Linked DNA regions of Homo sapiens: all the other regions are linked to region 1. Evidence: promoter capture Hi-C in human tissues and cell types (Jung and others, 2019). All regions are on one chromosome and are shown on one strand. The core of a region is centred on a gene start or on the middle of the fragment in contact, and the rest is flanking DNA. Distances in the headings are between cores, read along the strand shown.

Region 1 (4,166 bases), core at 940-3,439:
GGGCCCAGGCTCAAATGGTCTTGAATACTTCTGTTTTTTGTTCAGAATGCTGCAATCTCCATGAATAAAGCCCATGTTAGCAAGCTTAAAAATAAGATACCATGAGGAGGAGAAGCAAGGTGCCCCTGTTGAGCCCCAGAAGCAGAAGATCACCCCCAGAAGTACAGCTGGCTAGTCAACAAGCAGCTGATGATACCAGTCTGAAAGAGCTCAGCTGATACCAGAAGAACGGCCCCACTCACCCAGCCTAAATGGCTGATCATCTTAATTATAAACTAGTAAGTTTTGGATGATTTGTTATGCTGCAATAGCTAACTAATACATGCACCAGTGCAGATAGGATGCCAGGATTCAGTGACAGGTTGATTACTTGTTGCCTTCTAACAGTGGGCACCCTCTAGGTACTGATTTCTTCCCCTAATTTAAAGTTGGATGTCTTGAAAGAGAATGTTGGGTAATGCAGAAATACTGGGAGACATGTATGCATGTGATTGGTGTTTATATTCGCACAGTCCCCACACCACAGGAGAAAACAGATAACCACAGCCTCGCAATTAGGGTCAAGGCCAAATAGCAAAATAAGTTTGCCTTTAATCTATTTTCTCTGTATCTAAACACTGGAGTCCAAGAATGTGGGCAGAACTGAAGACACAGAGTTTTTTTCTCCTAAGCTCCATCATCCTATGTTCACAGCCTAATCTCTAAAAGAAAGGTGGGCAACAGGTGGTAAGCAGTGGTTTACCTGTGGTTATTTTATTTCTGCTGCCCTCAGCTCTTTCTATGGCCACTATCTGTTCCAACCTCAGAACTGAAGATAGATGTTAGTAGGGAGAGGCCCTTCCTTCCCCTCTGGCCCTTCACACCATTGACATCAGAGCTGCCATGTGTGGCTCCTGGGTGCCTGGAATGTGCTTGGTCTGAACCGCGATATGCTAGAAAGGTAAAACACAGAGTTATTTTCAAAAATTTAGTTGCAAATATTTATATACTTCATTAATAATTACATATTCCTCACACATTAAAATGATATTTTGTATATATTAGGTTAATTACATTGTTACAATCAATTCAACCTGTTCCTTGTTATTGTTGTTGTTGTTGTTGCTGTTGTTGCAGTCTGTCACTAGGCTGGAGTGCAGTGGCGCAATCTCGGCTCACTGCAACCTCTGCCTCCCGGGTTCAAGCGATTCTCCTGCCTCAGCCTCCCCAGTAGCTGGGATTACAGGCATGCGCCACCACGCCTGGCTAATTTTTATATTTTTTTCAGTAGAGACAGGGTTTAGCCATATTGCCAGGAGGGTCTCAATCACTTGATCTCGTGATCCACCAGCCTCGGCCTCCCAAAGTGCTGGGATTACAGGCGTGAGCCACTGCGCGTGGCCTCTTGTTTCTTTATATTTTTCACCCCCCAAAACGGAGTCTCGCTCTGTCCGCCCAGGCTGGAGTGCAGTGGCGCGATCTCTGCTCACTGCAACCTCCTCCGCCTCCCGGGTTCAAGCAATTCTCCTGCCTCAGCCTCCTGCGTAGCTGGGATTACAGATGTCCACCACCACGCCCGGCTAATTTTTGTATTTTTAGTAGAGACGTGGTTTCACCATGTTAGCCAGGCTGGTCTCAAACTCCTGACCTCTTGATCTGCCCGCCTTGTACTCCTAAAGTCCTAGGATTACAGGCGTGAGCCACCATGCCTGGCCCCTTGTTTCTTTTTAATTTTCTAGTTTGGCTACCAGAAAATTCAAAATTCACGTGGCTCACATTTTATTTCAGAGGATTACCTCCTTTTTAAAATCTCAGGCTGCCTGCTCAAAGGACCGTAAGCCAGGAAAGTAAAAAAACCCTGAAATTTTAAAACATTTGTTATTATATCCTTTTCATTTATGTATAGCCATATGATATAGTATTTACAAATGCATATGACCTTATACGCAAGGTTGAATGCAAATACCCTTTGGGGTGGGCCTATCTCAGCTCAAGGAGGAAGCCCTGCCTGAAAAGGCTGCAGCCTAGGCGGTCACTCTTTCTTCATTCAGCCCAGCATCTAATTACATCTTCTGTCAGTCAGGGCCTGAGAGGGTGGGGTTTTAAACGTTATCCAATCAGCGACGCTGGGCTGGGAACTGTCCAATCAGGCACGCAGCTTGAGCGGAGAGGACGGCTTCCGGGATGTGGCGGGATTTGTCCGCTTCTTTGTCTTTGGCTGCCGCTGGAACTCCGGGTCTCGTCTTCACTGCTCTGTGTCCTCTGCTCCTAGAGGCCCAGCCTCTGGTCCTGTGACCTGCAGGTATTGGGAATCCACAGCTAAGACGCCGGGACACCCTGGAAGCCTAGAAATGGTGAGAGTGCGGGGTCCAACATCCCGAGAGAGGGGAAGGGCTGGTTGGAACCGGTGGGAAGTGGCTGTGGCGAGACTCAGGCCTCCCCGCAGTCAGCTCTACAATCTGCGCCCCGAGTTCTCCTTGCCCAGCTCGGCCTCAGTCGCCTTCAGCCATAAGATGGCGGTTGCGCCGACAGCCCGGCCCCCGGGCGTCCTGTCTCTTCCCTGCATAGTGACTGTGCCCTTGCCTGGAGCCCTCTCTGGGGAATCTCTGCACCCGCAGCGCCGCTTCTCTACCGGATTGTGCAGGGACCGTGGGAGGGTCGTCAGGGGAGAATCCTGACTTGGGGTGCGGGTTCATGAATGGGAAGAGGTTTGTTCCGTGGGGTTCCCAGTTCCTATTATCTCCTATTAAAAGTTAATGGGAGTCACTGCAAAAATATTAAAAGAATTTAATCAAAGAGTGGTTCTAGGCTGGGCGCGGTGGCTCACGCCTGTAATCCCAGCACTTTGGAAGGCCGAGGTGGGCGGATCAGAGGTCAGGAGATCAAGACCATCCTGGCTAACACGGTGAAACCCCGTCTCTACTAAAAATACAAAAAATGAGCCGGGCGTGGTGGCGGGCGCCTGTAGTCCCAGCTACTCAGGAGGCTGAGGCAGGAGAATGGCGTGAACCCAGGAGGCAGAGCTTGCAGTGAGCCGAGATCGTGCCACTGCACTCCAGCCTGGGCGACAGAGCGAGACTCTTGTCTCAAAAAAAAAATTAACTTATTAAATAATTTAATCAAAAAGTGGTTCTAGAATTGTAGAGCACCAAGCTGTGGTTTTTAGTTTGTGGTCTATGGGAGAGGCTTGAAAGAAAGTCTTTTGTAAAATGCATGATGAAGAAAACCAAATTTAGTAATTGGTTAGGTACAGTTACGTGGTTTTTTAATTTGTACATTAAAGGTGAAAATTTCCTGGTTATGTAATCGGAGCTCAATTGGCAGTTTATAGTAGGTGAAGCCTCAATTTTGTTTCTCTGAATTTAGTAATTAAAAATAATGCGCCTGAGTTAGATTTTTTAAATTGAAGTAGGAACCCAGGGACTAGAGAAACCTCAGTCTAATTGCCTGCCACTTAATTATTTTCACACTCCACAGGGAACTGATTTTCTGCTGCATTTTTCACCTGGGTCCCAATCAGGGTCTTAAGTCTAACCCCCATCCCTCATTACTCCAACCTCATTCTTGCTTGCAGTAAGATACTAAATTTCCAATTTCTTCTGGGGTTCCCAAATGCCAGCTTTTCCTCCCTAATTCACATTATCACGTATTTGTGTTTTTTTGTTTGTTTTGTTTTGTTTTTGAGATGGAGTCTCGCTCTGTCTCCCAGGCTGGAGTGCAATGGCGCGATCTCGGCTCACCTCAACCTCCGCCTCCCGGTTTTAAACAATTCTCCCACTTCAGCCTCCTTAGTAGCTGGGATTACAGGTGCGCGCCATCATACCTGGCTAATTTTTGTGTTTTTGTAAAGACGGGGGTTTCACCATGCTGGCCAGGCTGGTCTCGAACTCCTGACCTCAGGTGATCCGCCCGCATCAGCTTGCCAAAGTGCTGGAATTACAGGCGTGAGCCACCGGGCCTGGCCACTTATTTTGTAGTGTACTTTTTTATACCGTATTTTAATTAATTATTTTTTGGCAAGGCATTAAATGGTGCTTTTTTCTTTTCTTTTTTTTTTGAGACGGAGTTTCACTCTTGTTGCAAAGGCACATTCTCGGCTCACCACAACCTCCGCCTCCGGGTTCACGAGGTTCTCATGCCTCAGCCTCCCAAGTAGCTGGGTTTACAGGCATGCACCACCACGCCCA
Region 2 (4,166 bases), core at 1,177-3,676, 940 kb before region 1:
GTCCCCTCTAGAGTAAGTTCCGGTTGGCACCTTATTTGTGTTTATATCATGTCTGGTAATTCTAGACAGTGTTTGGAAACAATAATTAAAAGACAGATTTTATCCAGCTCCAGAGAAACTCCACAATAATAGAACAGAAAGAAAATGGTTTTATTACACAATTGAACTTGAATGTGACATGCATCATGGTCAGTCTGCTTAAGAGACTGCAAAGATAGAAAGATGGTCACCAATATTAGTCCCCAAGCAGAAGAATTTCCAGCACCATGTCATACATAGTTCATCCTAAATTCACCTGGAGATTGAAGAGGCCATCTGTGTATACTAATTGCTTATATTCAATGACAAATAAACTTTTCACATCTTCATAACAGGAGGTAGTTTAGCAGCTTGAAGCCAGGTGCCTGCTGAAGGTAGCCTCTTACTCTGCTACAAAAATGGTTGAATAGGGTTCTTTTTTGCTATTTACATTTTAGAGCTGTGGTTCTGTACTCCCTGCCACTGGGCTACAGCACTCCTGCTTGCTTTCTCCTGGTTGCTAGTATGCTCTCTTGACCTCTACCATGTGCCACTGAGGCACAGCCCAGAGCACAGCTCACATTTTATGTGAATCCCATTTGCCACAGCAGCACTTTAGTGTCACATCAGATAGTGAAGCCTGAGCTGCAGGAGGAGAGCCTGCAGGCCTCCTGGGTAGAATTACACATTCACAATAATGGAAATGAGAGCAGTGTTTCAACCTCAGTTTCTACTTATAATGGTGACAAGGAAAAAATACTGCTGAATTTTCAGCATGACTCAAGATAGAGATAGCTCCAAAAGTTCTCACTATGACAGCCCACCTCATTCAGAAAAAAATGGGATATTAATAGGGTTTCTGAAACAGACACCTAAAGCTTTGGAGAGACAAACAGATCTCCGTCTGAGCAAGATTGAGAGAAAAAAGCTAAAACTATCTTAAGAAAAAGCTCAGATTAGATGTAAGATTGATGATGTCAGCCAGAAAATATTCCCCTGAAAGCAATTTCTCTCTAAACACCCAAAGTGCACAGCTACTCTCTGCATGAGAAACATTAGCATTATGAAGAAAGGGGCAAAGTCTCAGAAGAATTTTATAGTTTCTTTTCTATCTCTGCTGATCCATCATCTCCTAGTCATTGAATAGGGGTTCTGTATTGAAATACATCTGACAACTTCCCACAACACCTTCTGATGAAGAAATAGAATCTGACTGTGTTCATTTATTGGAATATATTAGAACTTGCAACATAGCTAACTGAAGAGCTACTATGGTTTTTGGTGGCCACATCACCTGTCTTTATTTGTCATGTAATAGCAGCATACCAATTTAGTGAAATAAAAGATATTAAAATTTTGTTTACTCATAATTATCCCTATTGAATAAAGTAATAAACATGTCACACTAATATCTACTTACTGTGACAATTTGGTAATAAATTTTCTTTAGATATTAGATATAAATATCAGTATGAATAATTTTAATAAACTAGTAATAATATATGTAGTTTTAAAAATTGCAACTATACTTCAGTTAAAACACTTTATATTTCAAAAGTATAAATTACAATATTAAAATAACCATGTAAGTGATTCATTCAAAGTAAGTATTGCGGCTTTATATTCATGTTACTGTAGAAAATACTGTTTATGGCTCATGCCTTGTCCACACTTCGGGAGGCTGAAATGGGTGGGTCACCTGGGTCAAAAGTTCAAGATCAAACTGGAGAACATGGTGACACCCATCTCTACTATAAATACAAAAACTTAGTCAGGAATGGTGATGCACACCTGTAATCCCAGCTACTCAAGAGGCTGAGGCAGAAGAATCGCTTGAACCCGGGAGGCAGCGGTTGCAGTGAGCCGAGATCATGCCATTGCACCCCAGCCTCAGCAACAGAGTGAGACTCTGTCTCAAAAGAAAAAAAAAAAGAGAATACTGTTAAATGTATATAAATGCAGGTTGTCTACAAACATTACGTATAACTATGCTAATTATTCTGAAGTAATAAATAGAAAGCAAGGTACAACTACTGACTCCACTGTTAAGTTTATACACTAGACTGTTCTTGTTTTTGCAGTGCAAGTACTTCAGCCTGCAAATATTGGATAATTTCCTTAGATCATCAGGTTTCTGTCAAAGAAACGTAGTATCTTTTATTGTTTACCATTCTGTGTTACTAAATTTAATCCTATCTTTGTGCTAAGCTTTTTTGTGCTCTAAAATTAGCTTTTACCTAAACAAATCTGTGTCTATTTTAAAGGACTAAAAATGAAAAAAATAAAGTTTTCAGAACCAAAAACAAACCAATAAATCTGAAGTACCAGATAACGATAATCTGGAGTCAGAAAAATGACAAAAGGGGATGGGCATGGTGGCTCACGCCTGTAATCCCAGCACTTTGGGAGGCAGAGGTGGGCGGATCACAAGGTCAGGAGGTCAAGACCATCCTGGCTAACATGGTGAAACCCCGTCTTTACTAAAAATACAAATTAGCCAGGTGTGGCAGCATGCGCCTGTAGTCCCAGCTACTTGGGACGCTGAGGCAAGAGAAGGGCATGAACCTGGGAGGCAGATGTTGCAGTGAGCCGAGATTGCCCCACTGCATTCCAGCCTGGGTGACAGAGCGAGACTCTGTCTTAAAAAAAAAAAAGAAAATGAAAAAGAAAAAATGACAAAAGACATTATTTAGCTGTTAATATGATTTACATACATTTCAAAAAAGCAGAGAAAATTGTCTATATATAATCTAAATCCCTTAAGCAAAGAGGGAATAGCAAAATATTTTTTTGGAACTTATTGAAGAGTTTTGAACTCTTGGACATCTGAAATTTGCACACTCTATGCACTTGACAGAATGTTTATGAAGGAAAAACCAGAAAAGAGAAAGATGTTATAAAAAAATCCATGAGTGCACAAGACCAATGCAACAGAATAGAGAGCCCAGAAATAATGCCACCCTCCTACAACCATCAGATTTTTGATGAAGCTGACAAGAGAAATGTGGGAAGGATTCTCTATTTAATAAACAGTGCTGGAATAACTACCTAACATTATGTAGACGACTGAAGCTAGACCTCTTCATTATACCGTATACAAAAATCAACTCAAGATAAATTAAAGACTTAAGTGTAAAACTTAAAATTATGGCGGGGCGCGGTGGCTCATGCCTGTAATCCCAGCACTTTGGGAGGCCGAGGCGGGTGGATCACGAGGTCAGGAGATCGAGACCATCCTGGCTAAAATGGTGAAACCCCGTCTGTACTAAAAATACAAAAAATTAGCCAGGCATGGTGGCGGGCGCCTGTAGTCCCAGCTACTCGGGAGGCTGAGGCAGAATGGTGTGAACCCGGGAGGCGGAGCTTGCAGTGAGCCGAGATTACACCACCGCACTCCAGCCTGGGCGACAGAGCGAGACTCCGTCTGAAAAAAAAAAAAAAAACAGAAACCAACCAAACAAAAAAACCCTTAAAATTATGAGAAACCCTCCAAGATAACCTAGGAAATACCATTCTAGACATAGAAACTGGCAAAGACTTCATGAGGAAGCTACCAAAAGCAACTGCAACAGAGGCAAAAATTGAAAAATGGGACCTATTTTTCAATTGTGAAGATCTTAAGAGCTTCTTCACAGCAGAAGAGATTATCAACAGAGTAGACAACCTACAGAATAAAGGAAAATATTTGCCTCTGACAAAGGTCGACTTTCCAGAATTTATTAAGAGCTTAAACAAGTTTACAAGAAAAAAACAAGCAACCTCATTAAAAAGTAGACAGGACGGGCACAGTGGCTCACGCTTGTAATCCCAGCACTTTGAGGGGACAAGGAGGGTGGATCACTTGAGAGGAGTTCAAGACCAACCTGGCCAACATGGTGAAACCCCGTCTCTACTAAAAATATCAAAAATTAGCTGGGCGTGGCGGCAGGTGCCTGTACTCCCAACTACTCAGGAGGCTGAGGCAGGAGAATGGCTCAAACCCAGGAGGTGGAGGCAGAGGTTGCAGCCAGCTGAGATCACGTCATTGCAATCCAGCCTGGGTGACAAGAGCAAAACTGTTGCAAAAAAAAAAAAAAAAAAAAAAAAAGTAGGCAAAGGCTGGGTGCGGAGGCTCACACCTGTAATCCCAGCACTTTTAAAGGCTGAGG
Region 3 (4,166 bases), core at 791-3,290, 600 kb before region 1:
GGGAGAATTGGTAGAACCTGGCAGGTGGAGCGTGCAGTGAGCCAAGATAGCGCCACTGCACTCCAGCCTGGGTGACAGAGAGAGACTTCTTCTCAAAAAAAAAAAAAAAGAAAAAAAATGCAGATTCACCTTCTTAGCAAGAGCAGAGCTGCAGTTCTCCATGATATGTTTGGACACCTCTTGTGGGAGATCTGCTGTGCCCAGTGCCTGGACTCTTCCATGCTTATGTTTCTTGCTGCCACTCTTGAGTACCTGATGCCCCATATCCTGGAGCTGGTGACCAATGAAGCTCATAATAGCCACAGAAGGTACAGTTATATTATCATCTATATTACATATGATTATCTATGTGTGTATTATATATATACATATATTCTATATATTATATAAAATGTATATATATGTTTTGGACAAAGACATATTCAAACAATAGTTAATAGTTTTTAAATATTCAGAATCAAAATTATTTATAAATATATTTTATTACAAACACAATTATTCATCTTATTCTTAGCCAAAACACCTGATCTGTCTAATAAGCACATATTTCACAGAGCTACATAGAGTTATCAATGGCTAAATACATTTTATAGGGAAAAGTATACTCTATAGAAATTCTGCCTTAATTGAAGAACTCAAAGCCCCAAATGTTATAAACACTTTTATGGCTGCATTAAGTTAAAAATAAGTGTTCCATCAAGTGTTGGGTCAATCTAACTCCTTTCTCCTGAGTATCAACATTTGAAGTTTTCACCTATTCACCAAAGACTCAAAGGCCACCCTCTGGTATCTCTGGCCTTTTCATAGACAGATGGTAAGAAGCTGCCCAGCTCATTTCAAGTTCAAGGTCAGATGGTTTCTTCTAGAAGTTCCAGTTTACTGTGTACCAGCCATGTGATTCTGTATATTCATTTATTCTCTCTAAGCAGCCGTCTCCATCTGTGTAAAATCAGGATGATGAATTTCTCTATCTTTGGGTTATCCCAAATAAGAAGTCAATTTGAGCTTAAGTTTAAGCTTAATGCAATGCTTGGCACCACAAGGCATGACACAGGATGCTAAACTGGGCACCTGTATTTTACAAAACTAGAAAACTTTGAGTTTCTTCCCTCTCCTGCATTTTCACATGTATTTGGTTTAATCTCTAAATCTGTTGAAGTTGAATAGATGTGTAGACAGGGATTGAGATTAATAATCTCATTTACAAAAACATAAAAAAGAATGAAATACGTAGAAATAAATTTATTGAAAGAGGTAAAAGATCTATACACTAAAAACTCTAAAACATTAAATAAATTGAAGGAACTAAAAAATTGAAAGATACACCATGCTTATGAATTGAAAGAATTAATATTGTAAAAATGTCCATACTACCCAAAGTGATCTACAGATTAAATGCAATCCTTATAAAAATTCCAATTATATTTTTCTCAGAATTTAAAAAGTAATTATCAAATCTCTATCAATTCATGAAAGACCCAGAATAGCCTAAGCAATATTGAGGAAAAACAACAAAGCTGGAGGCATCATACTACCTGGTTTCTGAATATATTACAAAGCTACAGTAAGGCCAGGTGCAGTGGCTCACACCTGTGATCCCAGCACTTTGGGAGGCCAAGGTGGGTTGCTTGAGTCCAGGAGTTCTAGACCAGCCTTGGCACCATAGCAAAACACCATCTCTACAAAAAATAGAAAAATTAGCAGAGTTTAATGGCACAAACCCATAGTCTCAGCTACTTGAGATGCGGAGGTGAGAGGATTCCTAGATCCTGTGAAGTTGAGGCTGCAGTGAGCCACGATGAAGCAACTGCACTCCACCCTGGGCAACAGACTGAAACCTGTCTCAAAAAAAAGCTACAGTAAGCAAATAGCATGGTACTGGATAAAAATAAACACACACAAATGAAGCATAATACCAAGTCAAGAAATAAATGTATCTACTTCATTTCTGGTAATGAAGGAACAATGTTTTCACCAGCAGGCTTCACCTTTCAGTGTTCTATCAATGAATATTTATCGGTAGATTATTTTTAATCTAACTTCAAGCATTCTGTAGCAGGCCAGATGAGGGCAGATCAGATGAATGTTAACATGAAAATTTTGTGGATTTATAGTTAATGAGTAATCATTTATGAAAGACTTACCCTATATTTCTGCAGTTGAATTATTTGCAGTTGGTCTAGTGGTGAGCACAGTCAATAAGAAACAGATAAATAAATAAATAAATGTATAATAAGAAACTAAATCAGTAGCCTGAAGAAAAAGTAGAGTTCTATTTGAAACAATAAAGAAAGAGAGAGAATGCTTACTGATCTTTTTTTTAAAATCTGTGATGGTCAATCAATATTTCTCTCTCAGAAGGCAAAAAAAAAAAAAAAAGGTAGCCAGGAGACAGGATTAATTTGTATCTCCTGCTTGGATGGACAGAACAGCATGTGGAGACTCTCATCATGAACTTTTACTCCAAGAACTACCATAGGAACATACCAGGAAAACCAAAAGAATGCACAGACTCTTTGAAAGAAGTGGCTTGCCACTGCAACCTCTGCGAGACAACTGAAAAACAGCAAGTGCCAAAAGTGTAAGAGAAGGAACATTCACCTCTAAACACACATACTCAAAACCTGAAAATCCAGATTACCAGAGAAGGATTTAGCCTTACCTAGGGCCGAAATGAATTTAGAGAGCCAAGCAAAATATAAAAGCAGAAGCAGTGGGAAGAGCCCCATAGGCACTCTTGATCCTCAGGGAAGCCATTTCTGACTTTATCTCACAGGGGTCCTTGGGAAGGGCTGCCAGTGGAATTGGGGAAGGGCTACAGGGAGAAGAAAACTTCCAGCTAAACCCTGTAAGAATTTTGACCTAGTGTCAATGTTCCTTGGCAGAATCGATGAGGGGACAGTGAATGAGAAGCACAGATACGGGCACAAAAGCCATGGCAGGTGGTGAGGGGTGGCGCCTGAAAGCCCAGGTTGCTTTCTCAATGGGGAGGCTTATAGCCTGGGGCAAGATCTCAGTACTGCTCACGGACTGGATATAAACTTGGTGCTGTTTGTGGGGTAGGGTGTGAATGAAACTGGCCTTGCTGGCTTCATGGGAGCTGAGTGAGGCCTGTCACTGCTGGCTTTCCTTCACTTCCATCCTGACCTGTATGATACAGCAGAGGCAGCCATAATCCCCCTGGGAACATAACTCCATTGGCCTGAGATCCATACTCCCAACCCCACAGCAGCTGCAGCAAGCCCCACCCAAGGAGGGTCTGAGCTCAGACAGGTCTAACCTTGTCCTCGCCTGATGCCCTTACTCTACCCATGCTGGTAGCTGAAGACAAAAAACATACTCTCTTGGGAGCTCTATGTTCCCACCCATTGCCTGAGAAACCTGAATACTTATCCAGGTGACCCAATGGCAAGCTTGCCTACACCCTATACTACCACAACTGATGCCGTATTGAAAATCCCACCTCTAGGTTGGAGGCCAACCAACTCAAGCCATTACATCAACTCATCAAAGAACCCCAACCAGGTGGTGTGGCTCACACCTGTAATCCCAGCATTTTGGGAGGCTGAGATGGGTGGATCACCTGAGGTCAGGAGTTCCAGACCCCCCTGACCAACATAGAGAAACCACATCCAGTTTCTACTAAAAATACAAAATTAGACAGGCTTGGTGGTGCATGCCTGTAATCCCAGCTACCTGGGAGGCTGAGGCAGGAGAATCCCTTGAACCTGGGAGGCAGAGATTGCGGGGAGCCAAGATCGCATGATTGCACTCCAGCCTGGGCAACAAGAGCATAACTCCATCTCAAAAAAAAAAAAAAAAAAAAAGAACAACCTCACTCCAATAAAGGAGAAAACAACAGCTAATTCCATCACCTGTAACATCCTGGCTAACCAGAAGTCCTCAGTCTTTCATGTGACAACTTCACTGCTAGAACAACCAGCATCCAAAAAAAGAAAAAAAAAAACCAGTGCACTAAACAGAACTACAACCAACCACCCTCACAGAGTCCACTTTACTCCCCTGCTACCTCTACCAGAGCAGGTGGTAGAATCCATGGCTGAGAAACCTGAAGACAGATCACATCACAGGACTCTTTGCAGACACTCCCCAGTACCAGCCCAGAGCCCAGTAGCTCCACTGGGTGGTTAAACCCAGAAGATCAA

Evidence for each region. Contacts are between HindIII fragments. The study calls those that stand out against the background at their distance.
Region 2: a fragment that was not itself captured here is called in contact with the fragment with the promoter of ZNF738 in region 1 in 1 of the 25 tissues and cell types used here (lymphoblastoid cells).
Region 3: a fragment that was not itself captured here is called in contact with the fragment with the promoter of ZNF738 in region 1 in 1 of the 25 tissues and cell types used here (lymphoblastoid cells).

Annotation. Positions count from the first base shown.
Region 1 is chr19:21,356,811-21,360,976 of GRCh38, forward strand. ZNF738 (zinc finger protein 738) reads left to right here and starts at 2,190. Exons shown (of 5, transcript NM_001355237.2): 1 at 2,190-2,333. The coding sequence starts at 2,331. RefSeq lists enhancers at 903-1,460, 2,252-2,551. The HindIII fragment of the contact is 7,981 bases long and covers 1-4,166 here.
Region 2 is chr19:20,415,857-20,420,022 of GRCh38, forward strand. The region is part of intron 1 of LOC124904663 (a long non-coding RNA gene); the gene reads right to left. It also overlaps the pseudogene ZNF826P and the pseudogene BNIP3P22. Among named protein-coding and RNA genes, the nearest start is that of MIR1270, 19 kb to the left of the region's middle. The HindIII fragment of the contact is 4,759 bases long and covers 48-4,166 here.
Region 3 is chr19:20,761,491-20,765,656 of GRCh38, forward strand. No RefSeq gene overlaps it. Among named protein-coding and RNA genes, the nearest start is that of ZNF66, 13 kb to the right of the region's middle. The HindIII fragment of the contact is 4,086 bases long and covers 1-4,083 here.